3 separate regions of the Homo sapiens genome follow, and regions 2 and 3 are each linked to region 1. The links are contacts of gene promoters, found by promoter capture Hi-C in blood cells and fetal thymus (Javierre and others, 2016). All regions are on one chromosome and are shown on one strand. The core of a region is centred on a gene start or on the middle of the fragment in contact, and the rest is flanking DNA. Distances in the headings are between cores, read along the strand shown.

Evidence for each region. Contacts are between HindIII fragments. The CHiCAGO score rates a contact against its expected background, and 5 or more counts as called.
Region 2: a contact is called between a fragment that was not itself captured here and the fragment with the promoter of CPO in region 1, in 7 of 17 cell types (M1 macrophages, erythroblasts, naive CD4 T cells and 4 more). The highest score is 6.8, in M1 macrophages.
Region 3: a contact is called between a fragment that was not itself captured here and the fragment with the promoter of CPO in region 1, in 2 of 17 cell types (fetal thymus and erythroblasts). The highest score is 6.0, in fetal thymus.

Annotation. Positions count from the first base shown.
Region 1 is chr2:206,936,575-206,941,539 of GRCh38, forward strand. CPO (carboxypeptidase O) reads left to right here and starts at 2,944. Exons shown (of 9, transcript NM_173077.3): 1 at 2,944-3,093. The coding sequence starts at 3,026. The HindIII fragment of the contact is 5,939 bases long and covers 1-4,965 here.
Region 2 is chr2:207,478,415-207,483,379 of GRCh38, forward strand. No RefSeq gene overlaps it. Among named protein-coding and RNA genes, the nearest start is that of CREB1, 49 kb to the right of the region's middle. The HindIII fragment of the contact is 1,328 bases long and covers 1,325-2,652 here.
Region 3 is chr2:207,457,700-207,462,664 of GRCh38, forward strand. No RefSeq gene overlaps it. Among named protein-coding and RNA genes, the nearest start is that of CREB1, 70 kb to the right of the region's middle. RefSeq lists an enhancer at 2,790-2,839. The HindIII fragment of the contact is 1,585 bases long and covers 1,542-3,126 here.

The DNA.
Region 1 (4,965 bases), core at 1,694-4,193:
CTCCATCAAAGAACGCAAGTTTCACCATAATTGAAACCAATTCCCCCCCCTTTTTCCCCTAGAACAATGTTTATGTGTTGGCAGGCTTTCTCTCATGTGGCTTAAAGGACCACATGTGTTTGCAGGCATTCTATCAAGTAGTTTAAAGAGCATAAAACTTGCAGTAATATTTTTGGGAGTAAATTTTATTGTTATGGCTTTAAAACACAATCAAATAAAAATAAGAATATCCATTAGTAGTTGAATATTGTAATAATAGAGTTGAGAACAAATTTTACTGTTATAGGAACTATAAAACAGCAATAATAAAACACTATTATTGTGAATAAATTGTGTGGAGATGACTAACTAGAAAGCTATAAAACACAACGATAAGAAATAATCTAATCACCAGGAAAGATGTGATAATAATTCACCCTTGTTAGTGAGGAGCCCATGGTTCCACTTCATTGGCCCTGAGTTCCCTGGGTTACTGCTTGCATTCCATAAGGTTACAGAAAGATAATCTTTGGCCAGGGGGGTTGGCAGGAGACCACATATTACAGTGAAATTGGACGTGGGGATTGAGGAAAATCCAATTATCAGTGACAGTTAAGAAAATCCTGTGTAGTAATATCAAATGTCCTCACAACACATTTAAAAAATTATTTGCAGGTTTTTACTAACAATTTGTGTGTATTATTTGACTACATTTTTATGTGTTTTTAAACTTTTATTTATATTCTTTTGTTTCAGAATAACTGTATGGAACTACATATTGGTAGCAGGGGAAGCCTTTTGCAGTCTTTCTTTTTATTTAGACTACCCATACGTCCCTTTGCCATGAATCCATCTCAGCCCATTCCAATTAGCAAGAGTATGGAAAGATGACACCCTTAACTTCCAGGTCCCCCTCTCTTTCTGTGGAACTGACAGCACCATTAGAACCCTTGCTCCAAAATTAGTACTACCAAGGTTCCTGCCAGTCCCCTCACTTGGGTGAGGAAGAGAGTGGCATGAGTGTTGCATTTTACCCCTCATTCTGAACAGCAAAATTCAAATTCAGGATTTTTGAATTAACTAAATCCCAAGGGAAGGATGCAAAATGCTAACAATGCAGTTTTCTTTAAGGTGCCATTATCGTAGGCAAGCTATGCTGAGTTTTCTATACTCACCGCCTCCACTTTCTCACTTCCCTTTCCTTCTTTAACCAGCTCCAGGCAGGCGTTTGTCCCCACCACGTTATCTACTGAAATTGCTCTTTTCAAGGTCTCCAGGAGCCTCTATCCTGCTGGTTATGATTGGTTAGTTCTTCGTCCTCGTTTGACCAGTGGGTAACTCCCATTTTTTTTGTTTTTAATGCTTTCCTCATTTGGCTTCTGGGACACAATAGTCACCCATTTTTTAACTACCTCACTGGCTGTTCTTCACAATTCCCTCGCTGGATTCTTCTCTTCTACCAAGTCCTCTAAATGTTAGGTCAGCCCAGGTCTCAGTCTTTGTCTTTCTCTGTCTATACCCACACCCTAGATGAACTCCTCTAGCCCAGTGGCTTTAAACACCATCGTGATATTGTGATACAATAGGAAATACATATTTTGTCTTTGTCCCTGGTTCCTGACACAGAGCTCCTAAAACCCTTGGAATTTCCTCAGTGATAAGATCAATAAAGGTGAAAGGGCCATTTTTGTTATTCATGACGTCCCTTTTGACTATGTCTAAGTTTAAGTGAACAGGTAACTTTTGGAAAGTTTCTAAGGATAGCGGCTGGTTGCCAGGAGAATCAGCCATGTTATTCAGTAATCCCCTCCCATCTCTGGGGAGGAAAGAGGGACTGGAGATTTATTTAATCACCAATGACCAATGATATGATCAATCATACCTATGTAATGAAGTCTTCATAAAAACACAAGGGAACAGAGTTTGGAGAGCCTCTGGGTTGCTAAACACATGGAGGGACTGGGTGGATGGCATGCCTGGAGACAGCATGGAAGCGCTTATCTCCTCTAGTTTTTTAACTGCATTCTCTTTACTTGAAACTGTAACATTTGTTTGTATACTCGTTTATTTTTCTCTCAACTCTACTGTGAGTTCCATAAAAGAAGGGACTCTGCCTTGTTCACCCTTGTATCTTAAGTATCTAGCATAGTGTCTGGTATACAGTGGTACTCATGAGATTTTTGTAGAATGAATACATGAATACAGGGCAGAAGATTTAAACTGGGTCCCTAAATGCCAAGGACTCCATTTAAATACTCTACCTGCTCTGCGCTAAAGTTTGCCTTGCTCAGTTAGACTATTAGCAATGGTCTTAACATGAGTCTTTAATTTTACTGGTCAATGAGATTCAAGCATAACTTGGCTATGTCTGAAAACATGGCGGAGTATCTGACAGAGTCCTTCATGTAAGAGGGGCGTGGGGTAAAATCCACATGGGAAAGGATTGAAACTGTCTTCACTGCTCAGATTTGAAGAGATCTGGGTTTGTTTAAGAAGCTGGTGATGTGGTTCATCAGAAAAAGAGAAGGCATTTGACCCCAATCAAAGCCTTAGATTGAAGGAGGAAGTGGAGATTCTGAATAATGACCATGTCCATTTTGACCAGAGCAGAGTGTTCTTTCTGGTCTCATGAACAGGCTCATGATTCACAAAGACTAGCCTACTATTCCCATTCAACCTGTGTGAGGGGAAGAGCAGGAATGATTGCTCCTGAGCACGAGTGATGGGGGTTCCTAGAAATACTCCAAGGTGACTTTACATAGGGAGGAAATTTATTTCAGGATCTGGTGAAGTTGAGAGCTCACGTAAATTTGGTTTTAGAGAAGAAATGAAATATCAAATGGTACAGCATTTCCCACACTGGAAAAGGTGTTTGAGGACATGAGAGAGTTAATAAAGCAATTGCCCGTGACTTTCTGCTGAGACATCCACTAACTGATTTATCTCATCTTGATTGTGGGAGCCACAGTCTTGATGCATTCATTCTCAAGGACACTTGATCCACTGCCAGAGAGGCCCAGAATTTTCTAACTTACTGTGTGGCAGAATGAAGCCTCTGCTTGAAACCCTTTATCTTTTGGGGATGCTGGTTCCTGGAGGGCTGGGATATGATAGGTGAGTGTAAAGTGGGAAGAGGAACTGATTATTATAATTTAGATTGTCTAAATTGAATGGTTTCTTTTTAAGACCAATGCAGCTGGCTTCTCCTTCCTTGCTACTCATATATACCACCATGAGATGAGAATAATAAAGACCACTGAAATTTATCACTGAATAATCATAATCCTCTAATAATCCTTGAATAAATGAATAAATATCTAGCAAACATTTCCTAACACAATGCATGAGATATACAAATAGACATGTCATGTTTTGTGATTGGAAAAAGAAAATTGTAATACAAATTCTATATCCTTCATTTTCATAGTATCTCATTTGGTAAATCACATTATCCTAATTATTAAGAAAAATGTTAAAATGACCAAATAATTTCACCTAGAGATAAGTACTATTAATGTTTTCAGATAGCTACCTGATTATGTATGCAGCACTATTTCTGAAATATTTCACTTAAATTGTATTACAGAAATTTTCCTATGGCATTAGCAATTTATTTAAAACAGTTGAAATTGCTAATAATATTCTGTCATTTAGTCAATTCCTGCTTTTTCATTTTTACAAATAATGCTGTGATGAGCAACCAGCTACATAATTTTTTTTGCTTTTTGCAAATCTTTAATTATTTCTCTAAGAAGTGGAATTACTGGGTCAGTAACTGAGGAAAATGTAAGGATCTTGCTACACATTGCCCAATTACCCTCTAGAAAGATTACATCAGTCTACACTTCCAATAACAGTGTATGAAAGCACTTTTTAAGTGTTTGGCAAATTGACAAGTAAAAAATACACATTGTTGACTTCCTTTGTATTTTGTTGATTTATAAGAGTAAATATTTTATTACTAATTTTATCATTTTATAAATTGCCCATTAATGTCATTTGCCCATTTTTGTGGTCTCTCCCTACTCTTAATGAATCATAAGTTCTCTAAATACATTCTATTGAAATCTGTGTGTGTGTATGTGTGTGTGTATAGTTTCCATATAAAGTGTGTTTTTCCCTTGTTCATATGCAAATCATTATTTTGCTCATTTAGCATATCTCATGAAGTATATGTGGTTATAATTGGTATTTCCTCTTTTGCTTCATGGTTAAAGAAATCTTGCAATGAACTTGCTCTCACATAACATAGAAACCCACTCCAATTTTTGTCCCACAATAATTGTGTGACCTCAGCTTGTTCCTTATCTTCAGTTCAATTTCAGATACTTACAGAGTCCAGGATCTCTGTGATATCAAAAACCTGTTTGAATATTTCTTTCTCATTTTTCCATTAGTTTACTTGGTTTCATGTACATAGGGCATTTATTTTCCTTTCTGAAATTCCTCATCCATAAATTGGAAATGAAGACTCTTACATATTTTACAGGAAATACAAAAAAAATTATGCTGCTTAAAAATATCAAGAGCCTTAAAACATAAATCTTTTGGCCTAGTGTTCCTGCCTCTGGACATCTATACTGAGGAAATAAACTAAAGTCTGAAAGAGTTTTATGCAGCTCTGGGATACAACTTTATTTATAATATATATATTCTAATATTTGGAAACAACTTGAATGTCTATGTTAGGTTATGTAAATGCTGATATGTGATATAGGACAATGGGATATTATTCATGCAATAGAAAAATAAGTATAAAACTTTTTAATGGCATAGGAAAATGTATGTTTTATGCTAAAGGAAAGAGGCTGTATATAAATCTAATGGAGTACTTTAAAAAATAAAATAAAAATATGTACTAAAATGGTAATTGTTATCTTTGGTTGGTGATATTTTCTCCCTTCCCTCAACTATTATTCATTTTGCAAATATCGTACAATGAACATGACATAAAACTTTAATTTAAAAAATTAGATTCCAAGCCCA
Region 2 (4,965 bases), core at 739-3,238, 540 kb after region 1:
AGTTAAAAACATAAAAATTAGAAAATCCCTGGGAAATATTTTTATATCACCAGCAAATATCCTGACTAGTCAAAGTGAGGCTTGCCATCAAAAGGAAGTCAGGATTCATCTATTTCTATTATGACCTTTCATTTCCTGCTGCATATTATAGTACATAGTAGACATTCAACAAATGTGGTTGACTGATGGATGGATTCATTTAACCGGTAATTATCAAGCAAGCACTATCAGGCAGACTGATCCAAGCACTATGGGAAGTGGGACTCGGCCTCCCTCTCTTACGACAGACTGGGCATGTGTAAACTTCTGTGCCTATGTTGCCCCATCAGCAATCTGGGGTTTCTAACTCCTAACATCCTCTAGTAATTTTGTTCATTGTAGTGAAAAACTGTCACTATACTCCTGGACTGAAGATTGCTGTAAGACAGTGGTTCTCAATGGGAGGCAAAGGCATTTGTTGAATGTCTACTATGTACTATAATATGCAGCAGGAAATGAAAGGTCATAATAGAAATAGATGAATCCTGACTTCCTTTTGATGGCAAGCCTCATTTTGACTAGTCAGGATATTTGCTGGTGATATAAAAATATTTCCCGGGGATTTTCTAATTTTTATGTTTTTAACTGTAGGAGAAGAAAAATATCTTTTCCTTTACCCATCATAGGTTGATGGCTGAGGTCCCCACGGCAATGGGAGGCAATATTGCTCCCCGGGGACATTTGGCCATGTCAGAATACACCGTTTATTGTCACACTAGAGGAAGGGGTCCTACTAGCATCTAATAGGGAGAGGCCATGGATGCTGTTAAATAGCCTATAATGCACAGGCAGCTCCTCCGTCCCAAACAGAGTTAGCAGCGCTGCGGTTGAGTAGAAAAATGCTCTAAGTTCACACATAAGTGTCATAAAGATCTTTGTGGGGTCACAAGGATGAAGGTCATCAACTTCATGCATAATGATTGAAATGGGAGGGGTCTAGCAGATCCAAACTACTTGATTATTTGATATTTCACAAAATACTGACTAATCTGCGTCATAATAACTATTGCTTACTGTCAAATGAGATTATTATCTCTTCTTAAAAGCCCATGTGTTTGAACTCTGTGGAAAGTAACACCACAAGAAAAAAAATCAGGGAGAGTTTGAAGAACTGTTTGTCACTGTTTACATTTCCCTCAACCCAGGAAGATGAGAGAAATTCTTGGAGCTTTCTAAATGCTTTGCTCGAATAAAGTGAAACCCACATCCACAACATCAAACATGCCAACAAGACATCACTCCCTTGAAATTCAAAGAGAAAAATACTCTCAACAAGAACTGTGGAAGCTTAGGGTAGTATAAATGTTTTAAATGATTTTCTTAAAAAAAAAACCTTACTCTGAAAACTAGTATCCTTAACAAAGGAAGATCAACTCTACATAAGAATTTTAAAAACACTCAGGTGGAAGTAGAACAAAAGCAAGAAGATATATTTAGACACAAATGCTGTAACTGTTTTCCATTGACAATCATTCCAGAAAATTTCTCCAATTAGGCAAATAAAGGGGTTTTAAAGGCATTCTCAGATGTGCTTATTAGTGTGGATTATTGTTTCTTTTTTGTTTGCAAACAGTATAAGACAAAATGGAGTTTCATCAGTCAAGGAGTTATTCAAGATAAAAATTAACAAATTACTTTTTCGGGTGAAAACTTTTACTCACTTTTTAAAATCTAATTTCCACTCTACCTAAAGATAAGTTATGAAATCAGTACTGTAGAAAGGGAGAAAGAGAGCACATATGTGGCACCTTTGCTTTTATTGTCTTCGAGCCAAATCCTTGACATTCATTATTAATATATTATGGTCATAATAGATATTACAATCAAAAATCATTTGCCCGATTGTTCCCTTTTTGACCCATAGGTCACAGAGTATCCTATTTATAATTCTGCTTTAGAAAGAAGTTTAAGAAAGGGACAAAATAGCCTCACCGCTTCATTGATTAACAAGTTGAGTTGAGTTTCTAAGCCCCTGACCTCACTCTAGATTTGGTGCAGCAGAGAGAGAGAGCTGGACACTCAGGAGAGGTCTGGGTAGAGTATTAGCCAAGGACAAAGCACTATACTGGCTCTCGTGTAGCTTAGATACCAAGTGAAAAAAATGATATGAGAATGTAATGAAAGCCTAATAAAATCCATTTCAAACCACTGCAGGGTAGGGTCAAGAGTCCTAGGGAGAGTCCAGACAGGGACACGTGTGACCGCTGAAATTAACATCTCACCTGGCAAGCCCCACTGCTTCACTTTGATTGGCACCCAGCTCAAGAGCTCATCACAGTGGTTCGAGGCATTCAACCTGCTGGGCTCCTTTTCTCACCAACTCAGCTGCTCCCCTTGTCCAACCCTCAGGGATTCTTTCTCTGGCCCAGTGAAAGATGACCAAGCAGACACAGCAAAATATGTTTTTAGAGGAAGAGGAAGAAGAAAAGGAGAAGGAGACCATGGAAGCACTTGTGAAAACATGTTTGGGAGAAAAACAAGCCTGGACTTCTAGACTGATACTATTTTGCTTCTAAATAAACCATTGGAAAACACTACATAATAGTAGCTAACTTTTATTGAGTGTTTACTACATGCCAAGCTCTTTCTAAATACTTTTCATATGTTAGCACAAGCTTCACATCAGCCCCTGTAGTTTGTACAGTTATTGCCCCACTTGTTGGATGGGGAAAGTAGGACACACACCCTTGGTTACACTAGTAAATGGCAGACCTGGAAGAGGAATCCAGGAAGCCTGACTTCAGAGCCCAGGCATGCTCCTAATTGTCTTCATCTCCCCTTGTCTATCCAATGCCTATGCTGGATGGCCATTGCTATGGCATGTTTTATAGAGAGAAAATGAGAAGCACAAAAGCTGTATGACCATCCACAACCCTGATGCTATGAAAACCCAAGTATCTAATGCCTCCATTGTTTTTCTGCACCACTGGGCATATTTAACCAAATAATTTGATGAAAATAGTCCTGGAACCAAATCCAGTGTAGCAGTACAATAATAGCACGAACAATAGAAAGCAAAACACAGATGAAGAATTGTGCTCTTTTTATCAGTTGGATTGTTCTCTAATCATTTCATATATATGAATGTCTGAAATTGCAACTATAAATCCCTCAAGGATAGGAATATATATTTCTTTTTAAATATCATAGAACACTGACATGTAGTATGATTGATAATTACTGGTTAAATGAATCCATTCATCAATCAACCACATTTGTTGAATGTCTACCACGTACTATAATATACAGCAGGAAATGAAAGATCGTAACAGAACTAGATTAATTCTGACTTCCTTTTGATGGCAAACAGGATAACATAAATACCTTCAAAATCAAAAATAAAAGTATTCTCCCTTTTTTTCTTATCAAGAGAACTCAAATCCATTTGGGGTGGCAAGGTACTCGGTTTAAAAACCCTGCCCTGACCTGGATTATTCCCTGATGGTTAGAGGAGGCCATGGAATTAGTGCTGGCTGATTAAATGTAAGCAAAAAATCACAGGGTGGAGCTGCCAGGAAAGCTTTTGAAAAAGGCACCAGCTCTGCAGGTCTCTGCCTCTCTACTTCTTCTTGCCTGGCATAAACACATGGCTGAGTTTCCAGCCAGGATGACTGTGGAGAAGCAGGAAGGAGCCCAGGTCCTAAGTGACCTTCATAGATACCAGCACCTGCCCTGGACTGCCCTGCTCTGGGTTCATGTCACATGAGGAAAATATCCACCTTCCTCGTATAAGCCTAGGAAGCCAGGTTTCTCTTCCATGCAGCTGAACCTAACCGCAATTGCTGATGACTGCTTATCTGGTCTGTCCTCCCTCGCCCCTTACTGGTTTTGAGAAGCCAGTAAAATTCTTCTAATTCTGTATATACAGCCACAGGCAGAGATATTTTTAAAGGGGAAAGAAACTCAAGGAGATACAATAATTACTAATTACACATTATATAACTCTTACAGGTTTGATTATTTTTGGAAATTATTTGGAAGAAAAACAGTAGATATTTTATAACATTTTTTTCTTCAAGGTCCCCATCTGTTTATTTTTTACACCTTTTTGATGAAATCACTGTTCATATTATTTGCCTCTTAAAAGTTTCTCGCATATGAAGTTTTTGAATGATCTCCCACTAGACTTTCTAGTTGATTTTAATTACTATTTCTTGTTCCAAAACTAAACTGTATCATGACATCTGGGATCTTCTAGATAATATTAGATTTGAAACATTATGTAGTTTATTCTTAGAGTTGAAATCAAGTCTTCATATAACTTCTAAGGCACTTATTGAAATGACTGCTCAAAAAAAAATTGCTAAAGGAATCAACTTGTTCTCTCAGATGTTTAAATAGTATCCTAGTCATCACTTAAACAACGTTGCATAGTTAGCCTTGTACTCATATAGCATAAGCAAACGTATTTAGGTCAACCTCAATATTTTTTGGAACTGTACATATTTTTTCACTTCACAGAACTACCTCACAAACTTGATATGTTGATATGCCATCTGCTAGCTTTACAGTCTCAGTTATTCATATATCTCACGTCAAAACACCACCTCACTTTGCTTAATTGCCTCATAATTGAGAGAAAAGTTTGTTTCAGTTGGGAGTTATTGGAATGACTGTTTTATTTACTCCCAAACATTAATACTCTTCACCTTTCAGTGTGAGGATCTAACTTTTAACTTGGTTAAAAGTTACTTTAGAAAATATTCAAAAATAAACATACTAAATGAAGAATCAAACTCAGAAAAACTTGCCTGGCACTTACTCAAGTTATGCAAACTCATAAATAACTAGGAGATGAAGTTTGGTACTGATGAATTGCTGCATAGCATGGGAAATTTATTTTCTAGGGCAGTCTCTGGCTTTTAGAAGCTTAAATTACATACATCTCTTAAATACAAATGACTGCACCAGCCAGTGGGTTCCTAA
Region 3 (4,965 bases), core at 1,084-3,583, 520 kb after region 1:
CCAAAATCAAATTCTAAATTAAGTCTTTTTGACCTTGAACTTACTTTGAGATTTACCAGTTAGGCCTCTTGAAAGCTACAAAATATGTGTTTTTCTCACCTTGTAAAAGAAAGATATTAAAATAATTGGGCTTACATATATTTGATGCATTAAATTATATAGTAAGTGTGGTCAAATAATGAGTAATGCTAAACCTAGAGTTATACTTAGGAGCGTATTATTGATATGAAAATGTGAGATTTTTAAAAGTCTAATGTTATCAGTAACAATTCTGGCAATTATGTTAAAATGTTGTATCCACAGAAATAACTAAATTTCCTTGTCAACTGCTGACTATAATGAACTCTCATCAGATTTTTAACCATGGCCATATTAAGTCTTTGTCATCTACAGGCCATTACTGTTTTGATTTTTGTCTAAAAGTATTGGCAATCAGCGATAGTCCAAAACTGCTTTTCTTCGAAAAGATTCATAGAAAAGACTTTGACAAATACCCTTGAATACAGGTTTCTAATAACCATAAGATCATACCATTGGACTGTGTGAGAATTTTCAGAACTCTAATGAAGAAATGAATGGCTTCATGAAACTGCCAAGCAAGATCAAGCAGATCAAGAATTAATTACGTGAAACTGAACTGATGAAGGTAATGTTTTCATGACTTTTAATTTGAAATTTTTAAATTTGAAATTTGGTTCTTATTGTAAATGTTTCCTTTTACAGATTTAAAGAAACTATTTCTCTTAAGCTTTCTAGAGCTTGCAGAGATCTGGTAGCATATACTTTTGTGAACAGAATTGGAACAATTACTTTTTCTTCCTACCTGATCCTGCTAGGACTCAGAAACTATTTGTGAGTATTCTTATTTTTATGGCAATATAATTATTTATACTAGTTTAATAAAAATCTGTTCTCCTTGTAACAGGGCACAATTGGAAATACTGGTTATGTTACCTTACCAAGGCTTTGACTGGAATATTCTATTTTCAAATATGACAGACAACTTTAAAGAACTAAGGTTGACTTTATGGAGCCAATAAAGCCCGCGCTTGGATAAACTGGCCTGGTACTTTGAAAGCATCGTTCATATGGTTGCCTTAGAGGTAGGTAAAGAATGTCACCTCCTGGCAGGACCAGGAACCTCAGGATATTTTGGGGACCTAAAGCAGAGAGGAATTCAGCAAAATCTAGAAGTACTTCAGGTGAATTTTTTTTTTCTTTTTTTTTTTTGAGACGAAGTCTCGCTCTTCTCCCCCAGGCTGGAGTGCAATGGCACAGTCTCGGCTCACTGCAAGCTCCGCCTCCCAGGTTCAAGCAATTCTCCTGCCTCAGCCTCCCGAGTAGCTGGGATTACAGGCGCCCGCCACCACGCCCAGCTAATTTTTGTATTTTTAGTAGAGACGGGGTTTCACCATGTTGGCCAGGCTGGTCTCAAACTCCTGACCTTGTGATCCGCCCGCCTCAGCCTCCCAAAGTGCTGAGATTACAGGCATGAGCCACCATGCCCAGCCACTTCAGGTGAATTTTAATGGTGAATCTTAAGCTTGGCCTCCTGGCCTCAAGAGGCTTTTCAATGTCTAATCTGAGATTCCTTATAAAACGTTCCAGCAAAGCAAATTTAAAGACAGCCTATGTGGCCAATCACTACTCTTGCTGAACTTGTATAAATAATCAGGTCAAGTTTAATGAAACTAAATTTATTTTGCAAACAAATTAGTTTTACTTTGATTATCTTTGATAGAGATGAAGGTGACTATAGAGAGAAAAATTTTGTTTCAGAAGAAAAGTATAGTGCACCCAGTATTAGATGCTAGCTCATTGTTTTTGAGAGTTTGTTATCCACCTGAAATCTGTGCTGGATCCTGAATTTCTCTAGTTTCTTCCAATATCTGGCTATGACTCACCAAACGAATATTTCCAATTTTTATCCCAGTCTTCTGGCTTGGAATCACTAAAAATTAAAGCACCCCTTTTTCTGAAGCCCTGCAAGGTGAAATTAGATGGCTTGATACAGACTTCAGAGAAATCACTACAACAGCTATGTAGAGATAACCTTCGGGCCTGCTGCTATATGGACTACTCAGAAAGCTCACTGGAACACCTGAAGCAAACTTTTGTAAACAAGGAAAATCTGTCAGATCATCACTGCCTGCCCCTGCTCCAGCTGGAAAGGCTTTAAGTCCAGCATCTAGAAATCTTGACTGGCTGCCCTCTAGAATTAAAAACTGAGTTTATAGTTTGTTCTAACCATTACACTTATTTTTGTTGTTATTATTGTTTCCATAGAAATGCCTCTTGTTACATATCTGATTGTTTGCACTGCATTAGTGCCTAACTTTAGTGGAAGCCCATTTGCAACACCTCTGCCTGAAGTGAGACAACTGCTAACTGTTTAACTCGACTGAGCTTAGGACTGAGAGGTCTGGTTCAATAGCTAATGAGAATCCACCAAACCAATTTCTGGATGTGAAACTTCTTGAGGAAGTTTCAGACAGGGGACTATCGGGGCTCAGAAAATGAAATCTCAAAGTATGGCACTTTGGCAAGCTGAGTACTTTGATCTAGAAAATATCAGAAAGCCTCGGAAGCATGATCTCTATGACCTTTTCCCCGCCCTCCTGTCTCTCACCTCTCTTTCTCCCCTGAAGTGAGGCATAGAAACCAAAATTTCTCTTCCCCAAGGCGGGCCATAGAAACTAGAACCCCTATCCCCCAAAGCAAGCCAAAAAACCTAGAAAGGTCATTCTCTCCCTTTGCCCTTCTTCCTTGAAGACCCTCATTCCAGAGGGGTCCTGTCCCACACCCAGGAGGAAAGAATGCTACACAGAGAGGCCAAGAAGACTCTGAACAGACAGGCCTTGCTGGGTTTTCCCCTGCAGTCTACTATCATTCAATCGTACCCTTTTTGTCCAACACATTTCTATATGGCTGTCCATTCTTCATCAAACATAAGCATACAAATAGATCATTTTTCCTGGGTCTTTGGTCTTCATTTCTGAGGCTCCTATGTAATGTAAAACTTTAAATAAATTTGTTACGCTTTAACCTGCCTCTTGTTGTAGGAGTGCAGGCCATGACTCTTATGAGGGGTAAGGAAGGGCATTCATTATACATTTCACCCCTACAAGCTTGAGGAATCAAAAGCAGTTAAGCAGATCTCAAAACTGACAGATTAATTGCCATTAATACATATTTTTATTCTTAAAGTTTCTTGTTAAATTACCCTAGAAGTTAAGAAAAACTTTACAATTATCCCAGTCATGAATTTGAATTGATTTAAAAAATAAACAAAAAACAATCAAACCAAAAAAAACACAAAAGACTGGAAATTGGGAGAAATTTCCATTTTAATCCATTTATAAAGAAGCAATGAAATGCTGATAATAGCAAGAGCGTTCAATATATCAACAAACCACAAATCAAACGAGAATAAAAACAAAATTCAAACTTGAGACAAGCAAGGTGAAGACAGATTAGATTTTAAACTGTTTTACAAATTCTCTCAAAATATGTTCATACTCGTCTCTAGCAGCCATGTCTTTAAACTCTTCATATGAAAAGTGCCTATTGTACATTAATTAGATGGAATATTTACAATTGCATGTATTTGTGAATAATATATAAAGTATTTGCATGTTATAAAATACTTCAAATATGATCTGGCCAAGTTGGGAATCACTTCTATTTTTTAGTCAAATGAATCCGGTTTTCCCACTCATTTCTGTTATAAATCAGAAATGCATTCCCAAAGAAAACAAAAAAGAAAGTTTCTGCCCCTCCCCCAAAATAATAATGGTAAGAACGTGGCCAGTTCTGTGGCCTTTCTGGAATTGTGGGCCCTAGTATATTGAGCTCCTCGGAAACTAAAAACATTTGCATTTTTAATGTGGAAAGGTATCAATGTGTACCTCTCCTTATGTGAGTAAATTTGTAACTTCCCACATCTGGTTTATGTAAAAGTAATACCTATAAAAAGTCACAAAAGGTAGACAACAAAATACATTAAAGACAGACCATTAACCCTCACACATATAGAATGAAATAACAGCATACTATGAACTCATATAATAACAGTATTCCAAAACTTTAAACTTCTCCTAATATTTGTGGTTCTTCTCCCATGAGAATAGTCCTAAAGCCCTTGGCCAGAGATGTGGGCACCCGGGGAATGAGACCAAGAGAGAGAATGAGCTAAAACTAAATTACACCTTCAGTTTTGCCACTAATATTCTCTAGGACTTGGTCAGTGGCTTATCCTCAGAGCATCTTAACTTACCCATGGGCAAAAGGACCTCAATGCCTTTCCTGCCAAACTCTAAAAGAAAATGAAAGTCACTCTGAATCCCTGTTATAAAGGTCCTATAAATATCTATAGCTGTTATTATTATAGGAAAACATGCTTCAGCCCCAGATACAACTATTTCAGCTACACACGCAACACAACCAGGGAGAGAAGACAAAAGCTCGCTTTCACTAAGTAACCGTATGAACTGGAATATAGTCAGTGGTCACCCGTGTAATATTTTTATTATCCATAGTAGGCTAAAATATAAAATATATAAAAGACGCAGCCTATACATTAACAAGTATTCAAGGTAAAAAGGAAGAGGGCAAAAACACACACAATAATAAGACAAAAACATATAACAAGAAATGCTGTTGTATAAAGAGGTAAACAATAGATGAATCTCACAGGCATAACAATGAGCAAAAGAGGCCAGATACAGAGGAATACATGCTGTGTGGTTCCATTTATATGAAGTTCAAGAACAGGTGCAACTAGGCCAGGCGCTGTGGCTCATGCCTGTAATCCCAGCACTTTGGGAGGCTGAGGCAGGTGGAGCACTTGAGGTCAGGAGTTCGAAACCAGCCTGGCCAACATGGTGAAACCCTGTCTCTACTAAAAATTACAAAAAATTAGCCGGGCGTGGTGATGCATGCCTGTAGTTCCAACTACTCGGGAGG